Linked DNA regions of Homo sapiens: regions 1 and 3 are each linked to region 2. The links are contacts of gene promoters, found by promoter capture Hi-C in human tissues and cell types (Jung and others, 2019). All regions are on one chromosome and are shown on one strand. Each heading gives the region's core, a stretch centred on a gene start or on the middle of the fragment in contact. The rest is flanking DNA. Distances are from core to core; before and after follow the strand shown. Region 1 holds the start of OR7D4 (olfactory receptor family 7 subfamily D member 4). Region 2 overlaps LOC105372269 (a long non-coding RNA gene). Region 3 holds the start of ZNF559 (zinc finger protein 559).

Region 1 (3,539 bases), core at 602-3,101, 240 kb before region 2:
CTTGTTAGCCAGGCTGGTCTCGAACTACTGACCTCAAGTGATCTGCCCACCTCGGCCTCCCAAAATGCTGGGATTACAGACATGAGCTACTGCACCTGGCCGGATCATTGTTAATTAGGGGAAGTAAGGAAAGGAAAGGGTAAATCTTCTAGGCTGACAGAAGAGAATTCGAGATTGTCCCATGGGTCATTGAGCTTGTAAAGGAAGGGATTTGAGATGCCAGTGAGATGGGGAGCAGGGAATGAAAGCGGGATATGTATTTGATGACTAGAAATAGAACATCCTATATTCTTCCTCCTTGTCCCTTTCACATTGGTCAACTTATATTTAGTTTTAGACAGTGGTTGCGATTGTTTTGTCTCATCATTTAACAAGGATTTACGTGGTGCCCAGCACATTACTGATTCTGAGCAAGTACAAATTGAAATGTTCTATAAAGACTGGGACCAAAGCATCAACTATAACACAAAATAGAAATCTTCAAGTTTAAGACATGTTTGAATATAGACATAAATTTAATAATACAGTAAATAACATATTCATATCTCTTTTAAAATAATGATAAATGAAGTAGTAATACCAGCTCTAACAATGGAAGCAGGTTTAATGTAAGAATGTCTGCATAATTCATCACAAAAACAGGTCAGTAAAGAGAAATCATAAACAAAATCACAATAGAAAAAATGCATTTGAAAAAGATTATCAACCAGGGCAGATCCTCTCAATAAAGGAAGAAACCAAGGACAATTGCTTAACCCGATAAACAATGGTTGTTTTAATACCACAGGCAACAAGATATGCTATGTTAAAACAGTAAGGGGTTTAAATTCCTGGATACACCAAAGGCCGTCTACTACAATTTCAATCTTTTGATATTTTGGTGAACATGCAAATGGATTTTTTTTTGGGGGGGACATGGTGTCACTTTGTCACCTGGGCTGGAGTGCGGGGTGCAGTCTCAGCTTACTGCAACCTCTGCCTCCTGGGTTCAAGCAATTATCCCATCTCAGTCTCCCGAGTAACTGGGATTGCAGGTGTAAGCTAAGGTGTCAGGCTTTCTTTTTTTGTTATTGTTTAGTAGAGACAGGGTTTTGCCATGTTAGCCAGGCTGGTCTCAGGGTCCTGGCCTCAAGTGATCTGCCCGCCTCGGCCTCCCAAAGTGCTGGGATTATAGATGTGAGCCACTACGTTCAGCCAAGGGATTTTTAATATGAGAAAAAAAATTGGACTGCATGTTGAATGTCAGAAATAATTGTATTATTTCTATATGATATCATGGATACTAAGTTGAAATAGCAAAAACATAACAGCTAGTAAGTGCTGTAAATAAGTCACCATCTCCACCACATCAACCCTACCCCCAATCCCCAGACCACTCTGGGTCTGGTAACCAATAATCTGCCAGGAAAAATATAGAATATAATAGAAAAATCCAATCACATTAGGAACACATAGACAATACCTTGAGCATAGTAGATCTTCCGTGAGTAGTTAATGAATAAGTAACTGGATGTACGAAATTCAACAGGAGACTAAAGTTTATAGGAAAGAGTGCAGGAGAGTTAGAGACTGTTCGGAAAATAACTTATTAAAGACGGGCCCTGGATTCCAAGGAGTGAGAACAGAAGGTGGGAGACACTGGTTTCTGTGAAAACTAAAGTACCATCAAAGTACAGGGACTTCACCTTCATAGACTCAATAAGTATGGGACTTTCCAGGCTCATTACTGTGAAGGCTAGTACTTATTCTCTCTCCTCTTTTCCTTCTTACCCCACCAGCCCTCACTGGGTCACACTAACTCTGATGGTTATCACTGAAGTTTTCTCTTCTACACGATCTGTTCCTAGGAAGCCGTACTGGGTTTTTTCCAAAGGCTGGGAGCAGAGAATTACAGGTGAGGTTGTTTAAACAGGGGCACATTTTAAGTTTCCAGTGTCTCAAGAGTTGAATTCTCAGAGCACCTTATTAAATAAATTGTTCTATTTTCTTCCCACTCTCCAAAGAGTTTGGCTCCCTTTGAGTAGTAAGAAGATGATAGAATGGAAATTTTTCAGTTAATTTTGTGATGAAATAGGCAGTGGTAGGGCATGATGGATTTATTTCCCCCAAGAAGAAATTCTTTCTTCGGTTTAATTTGAAAGTCACAAGTTTTGCCCTAAGGAAAGATTAATTTCTGCAAGGAACTAAACTCAGGAATCATCTCCAAGCGATGTGACTCCCTTGAAGAGTCTTTGGAGATTTTATGGATCCCTCGGTGTTGAAAATTCATGGAAACAAAAATGTCTTTTCTTTTTAAATATTTTTTCAAATTATTTTTATATATTTTTTTAAATTATAGAATTATATGTATGTATCATGTACAACTTGATATTTGGAAATATATATACATTGTGGACATTCAATGTATCTAATTAACATACGCATTATCTCACAGAGTCGTTATCCTGGTGAGAACACTTAATATCCACTCTCTTAGCATTTTCAAAGAATATCATATATATCATCATTAACTAAAGTCATCCTGCTGTACAATAGATCTCTTGAACTTACTTCTCTTATATAGCTGTAATTTTGTATTCTTTTACTAACATCTCCACAACACCAACACTACTCCTCAACCCCAAACCACTCTGGGTCTGGTAACCAACATTCTACTTCTTTGAAATCTGGATTCTATTTCTCTGAGATCACCTTCGTTAGATTCCACATATGAGTGAGATCATGTGATATTTGTCTTTCTGTGCCTCCCTTATTTCACTTAACACAATGTTCTCTGAGTTCATCCATGTTGCAAATGACAGGATTTCCTTGTGTTTTATGGATGAATCATATTCCATTGTGTATATATACTACATTTTCTTTATCCATTCATTTATTTGCAGACAACTAGGTTGATTCTGTGTCTTGGCTACTGTGAATAATGCTCCAATAAACATGGGAGTGCGATATCCCTTCCACACACTGACTTCGTTTCTTATTGATATATACCCAGTAGTGGACTGCTGGATCATATGGTAGTTCTATTTTTAAGTTTTTGAGGAACCTCCATACTCTTTTCCATAATGGTTGTACTAATTTACATTCCTACCAACAGTGTAGAAGGGTTTCCATTTCTTCATATCCTGGCCAGCACTTACTATCTTTTGTCTTTTTAGTAATAGCCATTTGAGATGAAGTGAGGTGATATCTCATTGTGGTTTTCATTTGCATTTCCCTGATGATTAGTGAAGTTAAACCTTTTAAAAATGTATGTTGGGCCGGGCGCAGTGGCTCACGCCTGTAATCCCAGCACTTTGGGAGGCCTAGACGGGCGGATCACAGGGTCAGGCGATCGAGACCATCCTGGCTAAAGGTGAAACCCCGTCCCTACTAAAAATACAAAAAATTAGCCGGGCGTGGTGGCGGGCGCCTGTAGTCCCAGCTACTTGGGAGGCTGAGGCAGGAGAATGACTTCAACCCGGGAGGGGGAGCTTGCAGTGAGCCGAGATCGCGCCACTGCACTCCAGCCTGGGTGACAGAGCGAGACTCGTCTCAAGAAA
Region 2 (3,523 bases), core at 555-3,054:
GAGTGTGCATTAGAGCTTGGGAAAAAAATCTCTTCAGGTGGAGAACAATACCCTTATTTTAGTGCTGTTAAGCAGGGGCCAAAAGAACCCTATGCAGATTTTATAGCTTGGTTACAGGAGTCTCTTAAAAAGGTGATTGCAGATTCAACTGCTCAGGATATAGTGTTGCAGTTATTAGCTTTTGACAATGCTAATCCCAAGTGCCAGGCTGCTCTGTGACCTGTTAGAGGGAAAGCACATTTAGTTGATTATATCAAGGCCTGTGACAGTATTGGAGGTAATCTGCATAAAGCTACTCTGTTAATGCAAGCCATGGGAGGACTGAGAGTGGGTAAAGGAAATGCTCCATTTCCTGAAGCTTGTTTCAACTGCAGGAAACATGGGCATACGAGAGAGAATGTAGAAAAAATCAGAGGGTCCAACTACCCATTGATGGAAAAAAGAAAACTGCTGAACCAGGTCTATACCTGAAGTGTAAAAAAGGAAAGCACTGGGCCAATCAGTGTCATTCTAAATTTGATAAAGACGGAAACCCGATTTCGAGAAACGCCATGAGGGGCCAATCCTGAGCCACATTCCAAACCAGGGCATTCCTGGCTCAGACCACTCCCTCACCCCTGTATAATGCTTGTCCCCCGCCACAGCTGGTAGTGCCTCAGTAGATCTGTGTTGCACCAGGGCTGTGAGTCTCCTGCCTGGAAAGCCACTGCAGAAGGTACCAACAGGAGTCTGCGGACCTCTGCCAGCAGGAATGGTAGGACTACTTCTGGGAAGATCTAGTTTAAATTTAAAAGGAGTGCAGGTTCATACAGGAGTAATTGATTTGGATTGTAACGGGGAAATTCAAATCGTTATATCTACCTCTGTTCCTTAAAAGGCAGAACCGGGAGAGCGTATAGGGCAGCTTCTGATTTTACCGTATGTGGGACTAGGAAAAAGTGAAACTAAAAGAACAAGGGGATTTGGCAGTACAAATAAACAAGGGAGAGCCACCTACTGGGTAAATCAAATTACTGATAACCATCCTACCTGTGAAAAAACTATTCAGCGAAAGAAATTTAAAGGTTTGGTAGATACAGGAGTGGACATTTCAATCATATCTCTACATCACTGGCCGTCTGCATGGCCAATTCAGCCTGCTCAATTTAACATAGTTGGAGTTGATAAAGCCCCTGAAGTATATCAAAGTAGTTATACTTTGCATTGTAAAGGGCCCGATGGACAACCTGGGACTATTCAACCAATTATAACTTCTATACCTATAAATTTATGGGGGCTCTCCCCCCATACATTTATTACAACAATGGGGAGCACAAGTTCTAATTCCTGAGCAATTATACAGCCCTCAAAGTCAACATATGATGCATGAAATGGGGTATGTCCATGGTATGGAACTAGGAAAAAATTTGCAAGGTTTGAAGGAATCTCTTCAAGCGGAAAGACAAAGTTCCCGCCAAGACTTAGGATACCATTTTTGATGGTAAGCCTGCAGAGCCTATCCTGTTAAAATGGCTGACAGACAGGCCAATATGGATAGAACAGTGGCCGCTGAGTAAAGAGAAACTGGAGGCTTTAAATGAACTAGTCAAAGAACAGCTTCAAAAGGAACATATAGCTCAAACTCTCTCCCCTTGGAATTCCCCAGTTTTCGTAATTAAGACAAAACCAGGTAAATGGAGAATGTTAACTGACTTAAGGGCTATTAATTCAGCTATATAACCTATTGGGGCATTACAGCCAGGACTGCCTTCTCCTGCTATGATTCCAAAAAATTGGCCTTTAATAGCCATAGATTTAAAAGACTTGTTTCTTTACTATCCCCTTAGCTCAGCAGGACTGTGAACAGTTTGCAATTACGATTCCTGTGGTAAACAACTTGCAGGCTGCTAAGCGTTTTAATTGGAAAGTGTTGCACAAGGCATGTTAAACAGTCCAACAATTTGCCAGACTTATGTAGGGCAAGCAATTGAACCTACTCATAAAAGATTTTCACAGTGTTACATTATTCATCATATGGATGATATTCTTTGTGCTTCCCCCACTCCGGAAATATTACTCCAATGTTACGGTCACTTGGAGAATTCAATTTCTCATGCCAGTTTAATTATAGCTCCTGACGCAATTCAGACTACTACTCCTTACGTCTACTTGGGGGCCTTAGTAAATGTCACCACAATAATGCCACAGAAAGTAGCCATATGTAGGATCAATAGAAAACATTGAATCAGACTTTCAAAATTTACTAGGGTATATTAATTGGATACCGCCTGCTCTAGGCATTCTGACTTATGCCATGAGTACTCTGTTTTCTATCTTTAGAGGAGATCCTAGTGTCACAAGCCCTTGGCAATTAACAAAAGAAGCTGAGGCAGAGCTGCAGCTAATTGAAAAGCAAGTCCATAAGGCCCAAATAAATAGAATAGATCTAGAGAATACTCTAGATTTGCTCATTTTTCCAACTCAGCATTCACCTACTGGTGTTATTGTTCAAGAGCGAGATCTTGTGGCGTAGCTTTTCCTTCCATATACTAATTCACGGACTTTGACTCCTTATTTGGATCGAATTGCTACTATGATAGGAAATGGGAGAACTCGGATTGTTAAATTACACGGATATGATCCTGGAAAAATTATTATCCCTCTCACAAAGACACAAATACAGCAAGCTTTTATAAATAGTCTTACTTGTTAAACCCATTTAGCTGACTTTGTGGGTATTCTCAATAACCATTTTCCTAACATGAAACTGTTTCAATTTTTTGAAATTAACTAATTGGATTCTCCCTAAAATGACTAAATCAAACCAATTGAAGGTACTGAGAATGTCTTCGCAGATGGGTCTAGTAATGGTAAAGCCTCTTATTCTGGATTGAAAGGTAAAGTTTTTCAGACGCCCTATACTTCAGCTCAAAAAGCGGAGCTTGAGGCTGTAATTGAGGCATTGACTGCTTTTAATATGCCTATTAATATGATTTCTGATTCTTCATATGTGGTTCTACACAGTTAGTTGAAAATGCTCAGCTACAATTCCACACATAAGAGCAACTGATGACTTTATTTACCCAATTGCAAACAGCAGTTAGGAGTAGAATGCACCCTTTTTACATCACTCACATTAGGGCTCATACACCTCTTCCAGGACCTTTGACTGTAGGGAATCAAATGGCTGATCACCTAGTTGCTACTGCAATATCTAATGCTAGACAATTCCACAATTTAACACACGTTAATGTCTCTGGTCTCAGACACAGATACAGCATTACCTGGAAAGAAGCTAAAGCTATTAACCAGCGATGCCCAACTTGCCAAATGATTCCTTGAGGATTGGAACCTAATTCTCTTTGGCAAATGGATGTCACACATGTTCCCTCGTTTGGGAGACTAGCTTATGTACATGTATGTGTAGACACCTTTTCTCACTTTGTCTGGGCTACATGCCAATCAGGAGAGTCTTCTGCCTGTGTTAAACATCACCTTTTGCAGTGTTTTGTGGTGATGGGCATTCCAGCTTCTATTAAAACAG
Region 3 (3,255 bases), core at 89-2,588, 130 kb before region 2:
ACATTAGTACAGGTCTTTGAATAAATTTTGCTTCTAACAGAAGTTACTATTTATTCCTAATTAGATGGGCAGGAAAGTCTTTGAAGAGGAACCTCTACTTTACTTTTTACTGTAGAGAGAGTAGTCTTTGATCTTGGGGAGATGGGGTTTTTCCTTTTGGTTTAGCTTCAGGAAGTTTGTGTTAATTGGCCTTAGGTGCCCTGCCCCCAGCCCCAGGTGTTTTTCCTTTGATTTAACTTTAGGAAATTATCACGAATTGGCCTTAGATTCCCCGACCCCAGATCTTGGTGTTTTCACTTTTAGGAAGTCCGCATGAATCTTATCTATGCTCTTAACTACGTCCTAATTTTTGTGTTTTTTGTCTTTTTTATAGGAATAGGGTTTTGCCATATTGCCCAGGCTGGTCTCGAACTCCTGAGCTCAAGTGGTCTGCCTGCCTCAGCCTCCCAAAGTGCTGGGATCACTGGCGTGAGCCATCAGGCCCAGCCTCTATGTGCTAATTTTTGAACAAATTCCAATAGGAGCATTCTAGTCTCTGAGTGTGAGATGACCAAAAATCAAGCCCTTGTGAGGCTGAATAGAGTCGGGAGGCAGGGAACTTAAGGCTGTTTCAGGCCGACTTCCTAGAACTAAATTGAAAGGAAAACCCTCACTTTCCTCGCCTAAATAACAAAAGGACCAGAGGCTACTCCCTTTGACCTTTTCTGCTGGCAGATAGGAAATTGGCTGTCTGCAACAAATCAGACTGATGGCCGGTTGAGTCTTCATTTGCATAGAAGTGTAACTTTGTAACGTCGTAACTTCACCCTAGCCTTTGATTGGTTGCTTTTTGCAACCAATCAGATGTTTGCACAGGAGTGTGACCTTTGTAACTTCAGACTCTGGTTGGCTGCTTTCTGCAACCAATCAGACTGAACGCGGGCTACCGCTTCATTTACAGGAGGTGAGCATGAAGTGGCCAATGGGAAAATTCTAGGAGGTATTGGGACTCATGAAGGTTCTGTTTCGGAGCCCTTGAGCTGCCGCTTGGCCAGTTCCCACACTGTGGAGTATGCTTTCGTTTTCAACAAATCCCAGCTCTTGTTCTTTTGTTGCTTCATTCTTTCTTTGCTTTGCTGGGCGTTTTGTCTAATTCTTTGTTCAAAACGCCAGTAACCTGGACAGCTTGCAGTCAAGACCCCCTACCGGTGACACTTGCGCTCTTCGGGGAGGTAAACAGCATTTCCTCTCAGCTCTGGGTTGGAAAAAGCCGCAGCAGCTGATGGGCCCGGGAACCCGAGGCCCCGCCCCCTAGGTGGTCCTAGCCTTTGCGCGTGCGCGGCGTGTCTGCGTGGGCGCATGCGCATAACGGCCGCCATCTTAACAGCGCGTTCCCGTTGGCGTCTGAGGTAAGTTTTTGTTTCTGGGCGGCGTTCGGTGGTGTCCCGGTGCAGCCACGCGAGAGTAGAAGGGTGGAAAGGGGAGGTGCCCAGTGAAATGGAGCCTGTCCCGTGCACTTTCGGGCATTTCGAGCATCTTGTGGGCTCTCCCAAGTCGCGGCCCCTCCTCTGAGAGCCACAGTCAGGTCTGTCCTCAGGGGTCGAGGCGGCTGCGCTGGGGCCTCGGCCCGGGAGGAGGCGGGGGGCACGGCCTTTCCATTTTCCCTGCTCCCCTCTGCAGAAGCCTCATAGGGCCCGGCGCGGCGGCTCACGCCTGTCATTCCCAGCGCTTTGGGCGGATTGGGTAGGAGGATTACTTGAGGCCAGGAGTTCAAGACCAGGCAGGGCAACATAGGGAGACCCCCCCCCCCAACCATCTCTAATGGAAAAAAAAAAAAAAGTCTCCACATCCAGCGTTGTGCCTTTTCTCTATAAGGAACAGCATCTCTGCCTTCCTGTTCACGGTGACCTTCGCTTGGTGTCCTCCTGGCCTCAGCAACCTGACAATTCTGTCGTGTCCCGGTGAGCACTTCATGCACTTGTTCTGGCTGTGGGTGTCGGGTCTTGAAGTTTAAGTTGTGTCGAGGTGGAAAGAAACCTTTTCAGGTGGTTGTTCGAGAGCACATGGATCTGATACCATCGAATGCATGAGTGGATGAATGCACATAACTGTAAAATTTACCACCAAGGAAAAACACAGGACTACTCAACTGTGGTTCCAGGCCATCACCTAGATCTCACTCTAGCGCCCTGTAGATTCCCCCAGAGGTTCAAAACGAGGGCATCCCCAGGAACACGGTGCGGGCTGATTTACTAGCAGGAGGGATTGAATTGATAATGAATGCGAAGATAACTTTTGACAGGTGGGTTTTCTACCAGTTACTCATTTGAAAGTCTTACTGAGGGCGGGGCAAGGTGGCTCACACCTGTAATCCCAGCGTTTTGGGAGGCTGAGGCTGGAGGATCGCTTGAGCCCAGGAATTTGATGCCAACCTGGAAAAAATAGGGCAAGCCTCTGTCTCTACTAAAAATAAAAAATTAGCTGGGCATGGTGGTGTCTGTGGTCCCATCCACTTTGGAGGCCGAGATGCGAGGATCACTTGAGCATGGGAGGTCGAGGCTGCTGTGAGCCATTATTGTGTCACTGCATTCCAGCTTAGGCAACAGAGTGAGACCCTGTTTCAAAAAGAAGAAAAAAAAACAAATACTGATCTAGAGAACATCTGTAGCTCGAGTAAAACAAATGTCTTTAGTCCAGGTGTGGTGGCTCACGCCTGTAATCCCAGCATGTTGGGAGGCTGAGGCTGGCGGATCACGAGGTCAGGAGTTTGAGACCAGCCTGGCCAACATAGTGAAACCCCGTCTTTACTCAAAATACAAAAAATTAGCCGGGCGTGGGCACCTGTAATCCCAGCTACTCAGGAGCCTGAGGCAGGAGAATCGCTTGAACCTGGGAGGCAGAGGTTGCAGTGAGCCAAGATTGCACCCTTGCATTCCAGCCTGGGCAACAGTGCGAGACTCCGTCTCCAAAAAAAAAAAAAAAAGTCTTTAACCCTTAACTACATTCACTAGTTGTTAAGATTTGTTTCATTTTTTTGTATATGTACTTTATCATGAGCCATTTAAATTGGAAGTGAATGAACTTTCCCCTTTTAAGCGTGTATCTCAAATACCTCCTGAAAGTGAAGACAAGCTTAAAACAAGACTTCATTGTCCATCCCCACCCCCAAATCAAATCAGATTTCCCCAGCTGTCCAAAAGTCACCATAGTCACCATTATAGTTGCCAGGTTGTTTGCATGTTTTTAGATCTGTTAAATCTGTTTTTTAACTAGACT

What was found. The method cuts DNA at HindIII sites, captures the fragments that hold promoters and counts their contacts. A contact is called where the count stands out against the background at its distance.
Region 1: the fragment with the promoter of OR7D4 here is called in contact with a fragment that was not itself captured in region 2 in 2 of the 25 tissues and cell types used here (dorsolateral prefrontal cortex and spleen).
Region 3: a contact is called between the fragment with the promoter of ZNF559 here and a fragment that was not itself captured in region 2, in 3 of the 25 tissues and cell types used here (H1 embryonic stem cells, dorsolateral prefrontal cortex and neural progenitor cells).

Annotation. Positions count from the first base shown.
Region 1 is chr19:9,217,738-9,221,276 of GRCh38, forward strand. It overlaps OR7D4 (olfactory receptor family 7 subfamily D member 4), which reads right to left and starts at 1,852. Exons shown (of 2, transcript NM_001005191.3): 1 at 1,463-1,852. It also overlaps a transcript of OR7E24 not described here. The HindIII fragment of the contact is 21,358 bases long and covers 1-3,265 here.
Region 2 is chr19:9,455,523-9,459,045 of GRCh38, forward strand. LOC105372269 (a long non-coding RNA gene) reads left to right here. Exons shown (of 3, transcript XR_007067133.1): 2 at 1-3,523. It also overlaps a transcript of ZNF560 not described here. Among named protein-coding and RNA genes, the nearest start is that of ZNF266, 22 kb to the left of the region's middle. The HindIII fragment of the contact is 4,913 bases long and covers 1-3,523 here.
Region 3 is chr19:9,322,841-9,326,095 of GRCh38, forward strand. ZNF559 (zinc finger protein 559) reads left to right here and starts at 1,339. Exons shown (of 7, transcript NM_032497.3): 1 at 1,339-1,388; 2 at 1,855-1,940. It overlaps ZNF559-ZNF177 (ZNF559-ZNF177 readthrough), which reads left to right and starts at 1,339. Exons shown (of 13, transcript NM_001384659.1): 1 at 1,339-1,388; 2 at 1,855-1,940. RefSeq lists an enhancer at 1,183-1,432 and a silencer at 1,603-1,742. The HindIII fragment of the contact is 8,356 bases long and covers 1-3,255 here.